2 separate regions of the Homo sapiens genome follow, and region 1 is linked to region 2. The links are contacts of gene promoters, found by promoter capture Hi-C in blood cells and fetal thymus (Javierre and others, 2016). All regions are on one chromosome and are shown on one strand. The core of a region is centred on a gene start or on the middle of the fragment in contact, and the rest is flanking DNA. Distances in the headings are between cores, read along the strand shown.

The links. Contacts are between HindIII fragments. The CHiCAGO score rates a contact against its expected background, and 5 or more counts as called.
Region 1: a contact is called between the fragment with the promoter of ABCG4 here and the fragment with the promoter of MCAM in region 2, in 10 of 17 cell types (endothelial precursors, neutrophils, total CD4 T cells and 7 more). The highest score is 9.4, in endothelial precursors.

What each region holds. Positions count from the first base shown.
Region 1 is chr11:119,146,701-119,151,449 of GRCh38, forward strand. ABCG4 (ATP binding cassette subfamily G member 4) reads left to right here and starts at 2,352. Exons shown (of 15, transcript NM_022169.5): 1 at 2,352-2,663; 2 at 3,254-3,503. The coding sequence starts at 3,266. RefSeq lists an enhancer at 1,734-1,793 and a silencer at 2,451-2,530. The HindIII fragment of the contact is 14,272 bases long and covers 1-4,749 here.
Region 2 is chr11:119,315,434-119,319,922 of GRCh38, forward strand. MCAM (melanoma cell adhesion molecule) reads right to left here and starts at 1,697. Exons shown (of 16, transcript NM_006500.3): 1 at 1,602-1,697. The coding sequence starts at 1,668. RefSeq lists enhancers at 1-383, 3,277-3,326 and a silencer at 1,976-2,035. The HindIII fragment of the contact is 17,882 bases long and covers 1-4,489 here.

The DNA of each region.
Region 1 (4,749 bases), core at 1,102-3,601, 170 kb before region 2:
TCATCCCAGGCTCAAGTGATCCTCCTGCCTCAGCCTCCCGAGTAGCCGGGACTACAGGCACACACCACCACGTCTGGCTTATTTATTTATTTAATTTTATTTTTTGAGACAGAGTCTTGCTCTGTCGCCCAGGCTGGAGTGCAGTGGCACGATCTTGGCTCACTACAACCTCCGCCTCCCAGGTTCAAGTGATTCTTGTGCCCTAGCCTCCAAAGTATTATAGGCATGAGCCACCATGCCCAGCTAATTTTTGTAATATTAGTAGAGATGGGGTCTCGCCATCTTGGCCAGGCTGGTCTCGAACTCCTGACCTAAAGTGATCCACCCACCTTGGCATCCCAAAGTGCTGGGATTACAGGTGTGAGCCACCATGCCTGGCCTATAGTCTACTCTTGAGAATAAAAAATCTTAATCTGCTGAGTGTGGTGGCTCATGCCTGTAATCACAGCACTTTGGGAGGCTGAGGCGGGAGGATCACTTGAGGTCAGGAATTCGAGACCAGCCTGGTCAACATGGTGAAACCCCATCTCTACAAAAAATACAAAAATTAGCCGGGTGTGGTGGTGTGTGCCTGTAGTTCCAGCTACTCAGGAGGCCGAGGCAGGAGAATCGTTTCAACCTGGGAGGCAGAGGCTGCAGTGAGCTGAGATCTCACCACTGCTCTCCAGCCTGGGTGACAGAACGAGACTATATCAGAAAGAAAGAAAGAAGCAAAGAAAGAGAGAAAGAGAGAGAGAGAAAGAAAGAAAGAGAAAGAAAGAAAGGAAAGAAAGAAAGAAAGAAAGAAAGAAAGAAAGAAAGAAAGAAAGAAAGAAAGAAAGAAAGTTGTGTGCCAAAGAATAAAGCTGGGTGGCATTAAGACATGGAGGTTATCTCAGGAGGATGAAGAGCCTGTCTAGAAAATAGAGGGAGACAGTCCATTTGGGAATAAGGTTCTGAGAGGCCCAATTAGCAGGGTAAAATCAGGGACTTTGGGATTCAAGCCCTGCTTTGCCACCAACTATTGCTTAACCTCCCTATGCCTCAGTTTTTCATCTCTAAAGGGGGGTTGTAAAACCTGTCGCATAGGGATATTGTGAAGATTAAATAACATAATGCCTGGTACAAAGTAGTTAATAAATGCAACTGTTGGGGGATGGGGAGGTCTATAGTAGCTGATGAGAAGTTGACTTGGAGAATGGAGGGTCCATCTGGAGAACAGGAGGTTGGTCCTGAGGAATGGTGGTGATGTGGGGCATGGAGTTGGGGGAAGATAGGAAAGACTGGATCCAAACCCCACACAAACCTCAGAGTAACAGGGCGGGGCCTAGAGAAATCCTCCAGGGATCGCCAGCTTTTAGGGCTGTGGAGAGGTGGTTGGGAGGGGGGCCAGCAGGGGAGAGGTTTGACTGCTAGTAACCCTCAACTGCTGCAGTAAGGAGAAGCCTCAGCGGTGGCAGTCACACCAGCAGCCTCAGAGCCTTCCCTCCCCATCGTCTCTGCTGTGTGACAGGTGGGAACTTAAAAGCTCAGATCACGTGTCTTGGCTAGCTAACCTACTTACCCCTTGAAGACATAGTGGCTGGGACAGGCAAGGGCCAAGAGGAATTGGCTGAGAAAGGGGCAGAGCAGGGGAAAGCCCCAAGTGTGTTCTGGGGACCTACATTTGAAGGCTTTGGGGGCAAGGGAGAGAATGTGCAGGTGCATGAGATGCCCAGGGCATGTCTGCGAGCCCTGTGCATGCCCTGGCACACAGGTCCCTCCAGGATATGGCATGTGCCTGTCTTGAAGGCCTGTATCTGGCTAGGTGACTACAGTCGGAGCAGGCTGAGCACTGGGTTCCAGTTTAACTCTGGAGCTACTGCAGGCTCTCCCAAAGCTGCTGCCATTTTCCCTTCTTTATTAGTGTCCTAACTCAGAGAAAGTGTGAATGGGGAGACAGGAGGATGTTCCAATGTCCCAAGGCTCCTGCGTTTTTGAAAGCCTTTGCACCTCGTTTGGGGATTCCTGGAGGGAGGCCTGCGCTCATTCATGGGCTGGAACTGAGGGAAATTGTTGGGGGACTGGTATCGTGTGTGAAGACAGACTGACACCTTTACAATCCCTCCACTTTCCCCCACCCCCAACACCCTTGCCTAATCTGTCTTCCAGGGACTTGTCCCCACGGAGTGACTCCAGCTCTCCTTTCCTCACTGCCTCCAAGTCGGCCCTTTGCCATCAACCCCCAGTCCTGAGTTCACCCCTGCACCTCCTCCGGCCCCCGCGCCGCAAGCGCTGCTCTCTCCTTTGCCGTCCTCGCCCCCCGCGGGCTGCCGGGCGGCGCGGGCCCTTTAAGAACGGCGGGACCGGCGAGCAGTAGCTGGTAGGAGAGCGCAGTCGCCCCGCGGGCTCGGAGGACACAGCGTCCGGGACCAGGCTCTGGGAAGCGGGTGTGCACAGCCCAGCAGAGTCAGGGCGCGACCCCAACCGCCTCTCACCATCCTTGCCGTCTCCTCCGAGCCGAGGGCCGGCCCTCCTGCCTCGCCTGCCCCGCCCCGGCCCCGCCCCGGCCCGGGCCGCCGGGACCGGGAGCCGGGACGCGGGTGCCGCAGCCCGAGGCAGGTAAGGGGAGCCCCGGCTCTCCGTCCCCGGTCCGTGGCAGCGCTGAGCATCCCGGCCCCGCACCGGCCCGGGGGCGCGTCAAGGTGACTAGGCATGCGGGAGATGGGGCGGGGGCTTGAGCTGCCGTGGGGCGCTTAGTTTTGAGTCCGGGTGGTGCGCCTGGCTTTGGGGACAGCCCGGGGCACGCGGGCCCGGGGGTGCCGGCGGGAGGGGCCGGCCTGGGCGTCGCGCCAAGGGATGGGGAGTGGGACGCAGCCGGAGGCCTGAAGCCTCCTCCTCTCCGCCTTCCCCTGGTCCGCCCTGCACTCACCCTGCTACCCCGACCTCCTAGAGCGGGCAGCCTCTGCCGGCTGCCTCTTCTCCCCCGCCCCCTATTCCTTCAGTCCCCAGGGGCTGCTGGCCTGCGGGGTAAGGAGATTAGAGAAGCCGCCGGGAGGAAGGAGCGATTGAGGGCTTCAAGGGGACGGGCTGGGGTCAGGCTGGAGCTGGGCTGCCCGGGACTGAGCGTCTCCGTGCGGAGAGTGGGGGGCGGGGGCAGAGTGCGGGGCTAACAGTCGCGGATCTGCCCCGAGAAGGAGGTGGGCAGTGGGGGCGGGGGAAGCATTAGAACGCCAGGGAGCTTTGAGCCGGGCTCGGTGGTCTGCCCCAAACTGAGCAGGCCCTCCCCTTGCAGGTCGGCGGCGTGATGGCGGAGAAGGCGCTGGAGGCCGTGGGCTGTGGACTAGGGCCGGGGGCTGTGGCCATGGCCGTGACGCTGGAGGACGGGGCGGAACCCCCTGTGCTGACCACGCACCTGAAGAAGGTGGAGAACCACATCACTGAAGCCCAGCGCTTCTCCCACCTACCCAAGCGCTCAGCCGTGGACATCGAGTTCGTGGAGCTGTCCTATTCCGTGCGGGAGGGGCCCTGCTGGCGCAAAAGGGGTAGGGAACAGCCTGGTAGGGGGAGTCCGTGGGCCCTCTCTGAGTTGCCTCTCCAGAAGCATGAGGCCTGGGTGTCCCATGTTCGGAAAGTCCTGCACCAGTGGGCTCTGTGGAAACACTAAAATCTGGGCCCCAGCCCGTTGCTCACTGTGCACTCTTGGGGTGTCAGGATCTACGCTCCCCCACACCTGTGAGCACCATGGGATACTAGGTGCAATTGGTTATTGAAGCTGTATCTTCTAAAGAGATCCCGTGACCTCTGGTCCTTGAGTGGTCCTTGATGAGTTTTCCTTCTTTTGTTTATGGAGGATTCCTACCTGTGAGGGCTGGTATGAAAAAGTAGGGGGCTGTGTCTGCAGGGTTGAGCAATACCCTTGGACCTAATTATAAAGACGTTCTCATTCCTGTCATCTTATTCCATTCTTACCACAGTGCTCAGAAGCAGGGAGGGTGGCGGTTTGGCAGGATAGATGTCATCTCCATGTTACTAATAAGGAAACTGAGGCCCAGGGAAGTTGAGTAACTTGACCAATGTCACACAGCTAGTAAGTGGTAGAGCTGAGACCAGAAGCCCGGTTTCCCAGCTCTCCATGCATTGTTCCTTTCTCTCTCTTCCCTGTACAGCAGTCCCATCACTTCCCTCTTCCCGCCCATGAGGACAGGTTCCCCTGAACCCTGACTAGCCCCTGCAGCCCCTACCCTGAGCAGCTTTAGCTGCTAGTAGGGAAGCTGAGGCTGTTTCCCAGAGCCTGGGTGTGGGCCAGGGGTGGGGCTGGGACATTGTTCTCTGAGGTTCAACAAATAGGTTTGGGGTGCTTCAGAGCAGGGCTGAGCATGATCTGCCTCTGCACTCTCCAAACCCTCACTCCCATGAGTGACCAAAAGGTCACATGGCTGAACCAATGGAAACTGAGGCATCTGGGCTTCCTGCCCAGTGGGCCCTGTCCCTAAGCAACCTCTTTCGGTCCTGAGACCAGCTCTGGGCAAAATCATGAGGCAGTTGTTATTTCTTTAGCCCTCTCATTTCCTCATAATTTTAAGAAACTAAGATTTTTTTTTAAAATGTGTCTAGACGGGCCAGCTCTCCAGTTGCTTCCATGTGCCAGCCACAGATTGATATCCCTCACCTGGCCCTTCCCTCCTTTTGACCTTGCCAGCCTCATTCTGCTGTACTGGCCATTTTGCCATTTCTTTCATCCGTTGTCCCTTTCTCTGCCCCCTGCCCTCCCCTCGATGACTTCTGTTT
Region 2 (4,489 bases), core at 447-2,946:
CTCTCCCCGTCCAGGAGATCCCAGGTCCTTGGAGCCAAGCAGAGATTGAGCAGAGACTGAGCACCGAACAGCTCCAGCTGAGGCTGGTAGAGGGGCAGAAAGGGGCAACCTAGGCTCGGGGCCAAGAGGAAGGCCCCTTTCCTTCCAGGCCCCCTCCTCTCCGGGTGAGCTCAGAGTGTGGGAATGCAAAGCATGTGCCAGGCTGGGGCACACAGGCCCTTTTGTGTCACCACCGCCAGGGGAAGACACCACTGCTCTATCCTCTGCCCTCCAAAATCCCTGCCCTCACTCCCCAGCGGGCTAACTCTGGCGGAAGTTCCGGTCTCATGCTCCCTCAGCAGCACCTCCATGAACACTCCGCACACACCCGCGGACCCCACCCTAGGTAGCTGGTAAGGATGGAGAGGTCAGAGTCTCCCCCAGGGGTCAGGGCAAGGGCCAGGCAGTGGGCAGGAGTGACGTCAGTGGTGCCAGCGTGCTGCCAGCCCTGTGAGGAGGTGATGTCACTCGACACCATCTGCCTGGGCTCTGGGATGCCTGGGTTGTTACCTTGGCTCTCGGACAAGGAGGGCAGGTGGAAGGTGGGGTCTCCAACCCAGAGCCTCAGACCCCTGACTCCTCCCAGAGCTAGAAGAGCAGGGCAGGGTGGAGCTGGACCGGCTGCAACTGTGGAGCCCGATTTAGCCCTTTCCCCAGAAATAAAGTCAGCCTGGGAGGCAGTAGCCTGGAATACCCCAGGGACATGGTTGGCACTGGGCATGAGGCCAGCGAGCTGGGTATTGCCTAGCCCTCCCCTTCCCCAGCCGGACAGCGGCTGGGACGGCGGAATGGGAGCCAAGAGAAACACGCGACACCGCTGCGGGCCATACAAGGGCAGCGTGGACCCGAGAGCGCCCTGCTACCAGGCGGATCCGGAGAAACGCTCCGAGGTGCCCGGGCGCACTTCCCACCTGAATGTGGTCCCCAAAATAAGCCAGCGGGCGCTTCCAGTATGGGAATCCTCCATCCCTCATCTCTGTCCCCTATGATCCCATCACTCGGGGAGGCGCGAGGCGACCCACACCGCCCCGCAACCCCTGCCAACGCCCAGCTCGGGCGGGAGCCGCCGAACCTCCCGCTCTCGCTCACCTCCAGCCTGGCGTGATGCCCAGGCAGAAGGGGGAAGGGGTGGGTCGGCGCACCCCCTCCAGCGAAGGAAGCTGCCTTTTCCAGCAACAGGCGGGCGCGGAATTCAGGCTTTGAGGATGCGCCCCAGCTGCGCCTCCTGCCCGGCTTCAATTGCGGGCCCCCAGAGTGAGCACCTCAGGGACCACCCACCCCCCAGCACCCCGAAAGGCTGAGCTCCACCCCTTCTCGTTCCCAGAAGCAGCCTCCTCCCCGCCTTCCGAGTGCTGCTCCCGGGATACTCTAGAATCCCGGCTGCAAACTGGCTGCAAAGAAGAGTTGCTCGCGCGCAAGGCGCCCGGGGATCGGGGACCCAGGGAGGAGGCTCGTCCTCCCAGACGCAACGCCCCGACCCCGCCGCGCCGCTGGCTCTGCTCCCTGGCACGCTCCACCGCAGACCCCTAGCCGGGGCGCGGCCCCCCTGCGAGCGAACTCACCCGCGACGCGAGGACAGCAGCAGCAGGCGGCGAGCAAGAAGGCGCAGACCAGCCTGGGAAGCCCCATGCTTCCCGGCCGGAGGGCGAGAGCCAAGTGAGCAGCTCGAGGCTGCCGGGGGCTGACGTCAGGGGGGCGGGGGAGGGGGCCCGGAGCGCCCGGGCCCGCCCCGCCCCGCGCAGCCCCCAGCCCCCGCCCCGCGCGCCGCAGCCCTAGGGGGCGGGCCCCGGCGCCGCCAGCCCGGGAGCTGCGCCTAGGAGCGCTGCCGGAGGTAGGCCAGAGCCGGACTCCCAGGCTCCTGGCTTGGGAAGGCTGAGGGGGTAGTGACAGGTGTCTCGGGGTCTGACTGGCCGAGGTGGCAGCGAGGAGAAGCTGTCCCGGATGCCCGGAGTCGCCCCGGGTCGAAGCCAGCCAGGCTCACCGCTGCTCAGCCCCTGCCAGCCAATGTAGCCCCTAGGGGACCTCCTGGGGGAGGAGCAGTAGCGGACCTGGTCCTCGGTGTCCCCAAGGGGCCTCCCACTTGGGCTCCCCTCCCTTGCCACAGAGAATTCAGGCCGGCCTCTATCGCTTCCCAGAACGATTGCACCACTGCCGCTGCCGCCGGCCTGACACTGCCTCAGCCTCAGTGCTGGCAGCTTTGGGAGAAGAACCCTGCGCCAGTCCCACAGACCCAGAAGTACCTGTATGGGGAGTGCAGACGATGCCTTCTGGGCTGTCCCTTCAAACGCAAGCTCCTGCAAGTCTAGCCTTTGACCAGAGAAAGGAAGGAGGGGGCTGAATTCGCAGGCCCAAGGTGTTCACACTTGTCCAGACCTGGGCCTTGAGAATCATGTTTCTTCCCTCTTCACTCTGGAGCCTACCCTGGAACTCAGTTTCCCCTCACCTAAGAGAAAGAAACAGGGAGAAGAAAGAGTTAATGGGCGAGGGTCCCCAGCCTGACCCTGCAAACCTGTTGCTGTTCCTGATGATTGAAAGGATCCCGGCAGCGCTGATCTTCCCCCACCCCATGTCTTCCCCAGCCCTATTGATTGTGGGTCCATAGCTGAGGGAAGAATCAAATCAGACCTGCTTGGGTGGGGAGCTCTGCAGCTCCCCTTCTCCCAAAACGCCGGCTTCTCCCTGGGTCTTCTGGCCTCTTGAACTAAGGCTCTAGGGAGGGGGAGGTGCTCTTGCCTCACTCTGACCCCAGCAGCCTGGCCTCAGAAAAGGGGTCCACATCTGCTGGCGCGCCTCCACCAGGGAGTGCCAAATAGGGGCCTGGATTTGGGTAGAGGTCTGTTGCCCAGCGGGGCCACCCCTTTGCTCGCTGGGGGAGGTGGAGGGTGAGCCAGCAAACCCTGGAGATGGCCAGGTGACTTGAGAGCATGCTCCGGGGTGGCGTTTTGATGACGCAGAGATGACTGGAAAACCACACCAGGCTTGTCTTTCAGAGCCTTCTCGACCCCTCCTCCAATGCCATTAGTCTCCAGCCAGAGGCTGTGCAGAGCCCAGGCCCACCGGGCCAGGGGCCTGGAGCCTGGAGCCTGCAGGGAGAACAAGAGGAGGACGCTGGCTCGCCCTCCAGAGTGAATGTATGGACTGGCCCCAGGCCCAGAGCTGACTAGATGAGAATGTTTTGTCTGCTGGGCTGGAGTGGGAATGGCTGAAGGATGCCGTTTGCCCTGGCAGGCCCGGCTGGGCATGGAGCTGGCTTCCCTGCCCAACCCCCTTCCTTCACTTAACACCATTAACTAATCATTCGCCTCTCTGGCCTGAAAACAAAGCCAGCTAACCACCAAGGACAGTCAGTTCTGAATTCTTCTTCCGCTGGAGGAGAGTGAAGCCAGGTGGGGGTGGAGGATTTGTCTCTGCGGTGAAAGGGAAATGAGGTCAGAGCCTAGAGCCCAGGGTGACGTCCCTTCGCATTGCCCCACCAAACAAGCACAGAAGACTGTCCTTTAAGGAAGCCAGTAGCCTGGGGCTGTCTAGGCTGCTCGGAAGTGGGTCATAGCCTCAGGGGACAGATAGCTTTGGGATGGTTTCATGAGGTGGGCACTTTGGGATTCCAAACTAAAGACGGGTCAGGACCTCGGAAAGGACGCAGGAGTGGAGGCAGGGAGCAGGGTGGAGGGAGCGGAAGGTGAAGGGGATCAGCCCTCAGCTCTTCTTAGAGGCCAGAGGCTAGTGCTCCGGCAGCCCCAGGGGAGAGAAGGTGGCTGCGGGACTTCCAGCAGGACAGGAGTGACAGCCAGCAGAAGGGAGTTGGAGGAGGAGGCCACGGCCGTCTACCCTGCAGGGACCCAGCACCTGGACTGGGTTGGAAGAGCCTGGCTCAGATGTAGGCCAGGGCCAGAAGAGGCCCTGGGGGCAGAGTCCTAATTCTTCTTTTTTCCCTCGTTGGGTTGCAGGCAAGAAGGCTGCTTTCCTCCAGCCCCATGGTGGACCTGGGCCCCTCACACATGAGGGGACCCTCCTGCGCATAATGCCCTCTGCGTGTCTCTGGTATAGGTCTGACCACAGGTGGAGAAACTGAGGCCAGGTGGGGTGGGGGTCCTGGTTGGGCTCCTCAGCCACAGTCTCCTGGATGGGTGGAGCTTTCAGCTCATTGTAAGGAGAAGTGGAACCCTGGGGAGTTGGAGGTAAAAAGACAAGGATGGACCTGTCCCCAGAGGCCATGAAGGGGCAAGACTGGAACCCAAGTGTCCTCTCTCAGCTCCAGCAAAGGGAACTTAGCGACTTCTGACCCACCCTTCTGGATCCAGGGGCCTTGACCAGGATGTGAGGATATGAGAAGGGTGGGTCAGAAGTAGCTCGAGGAAGGAAGCTGATAAAGAGGTGTTTGCAGCTGCTGTGAGGACATGGGGTGGGAGTCCCAACAATCTTGGCAGTTACCGAGACTGGGGAACCCCCT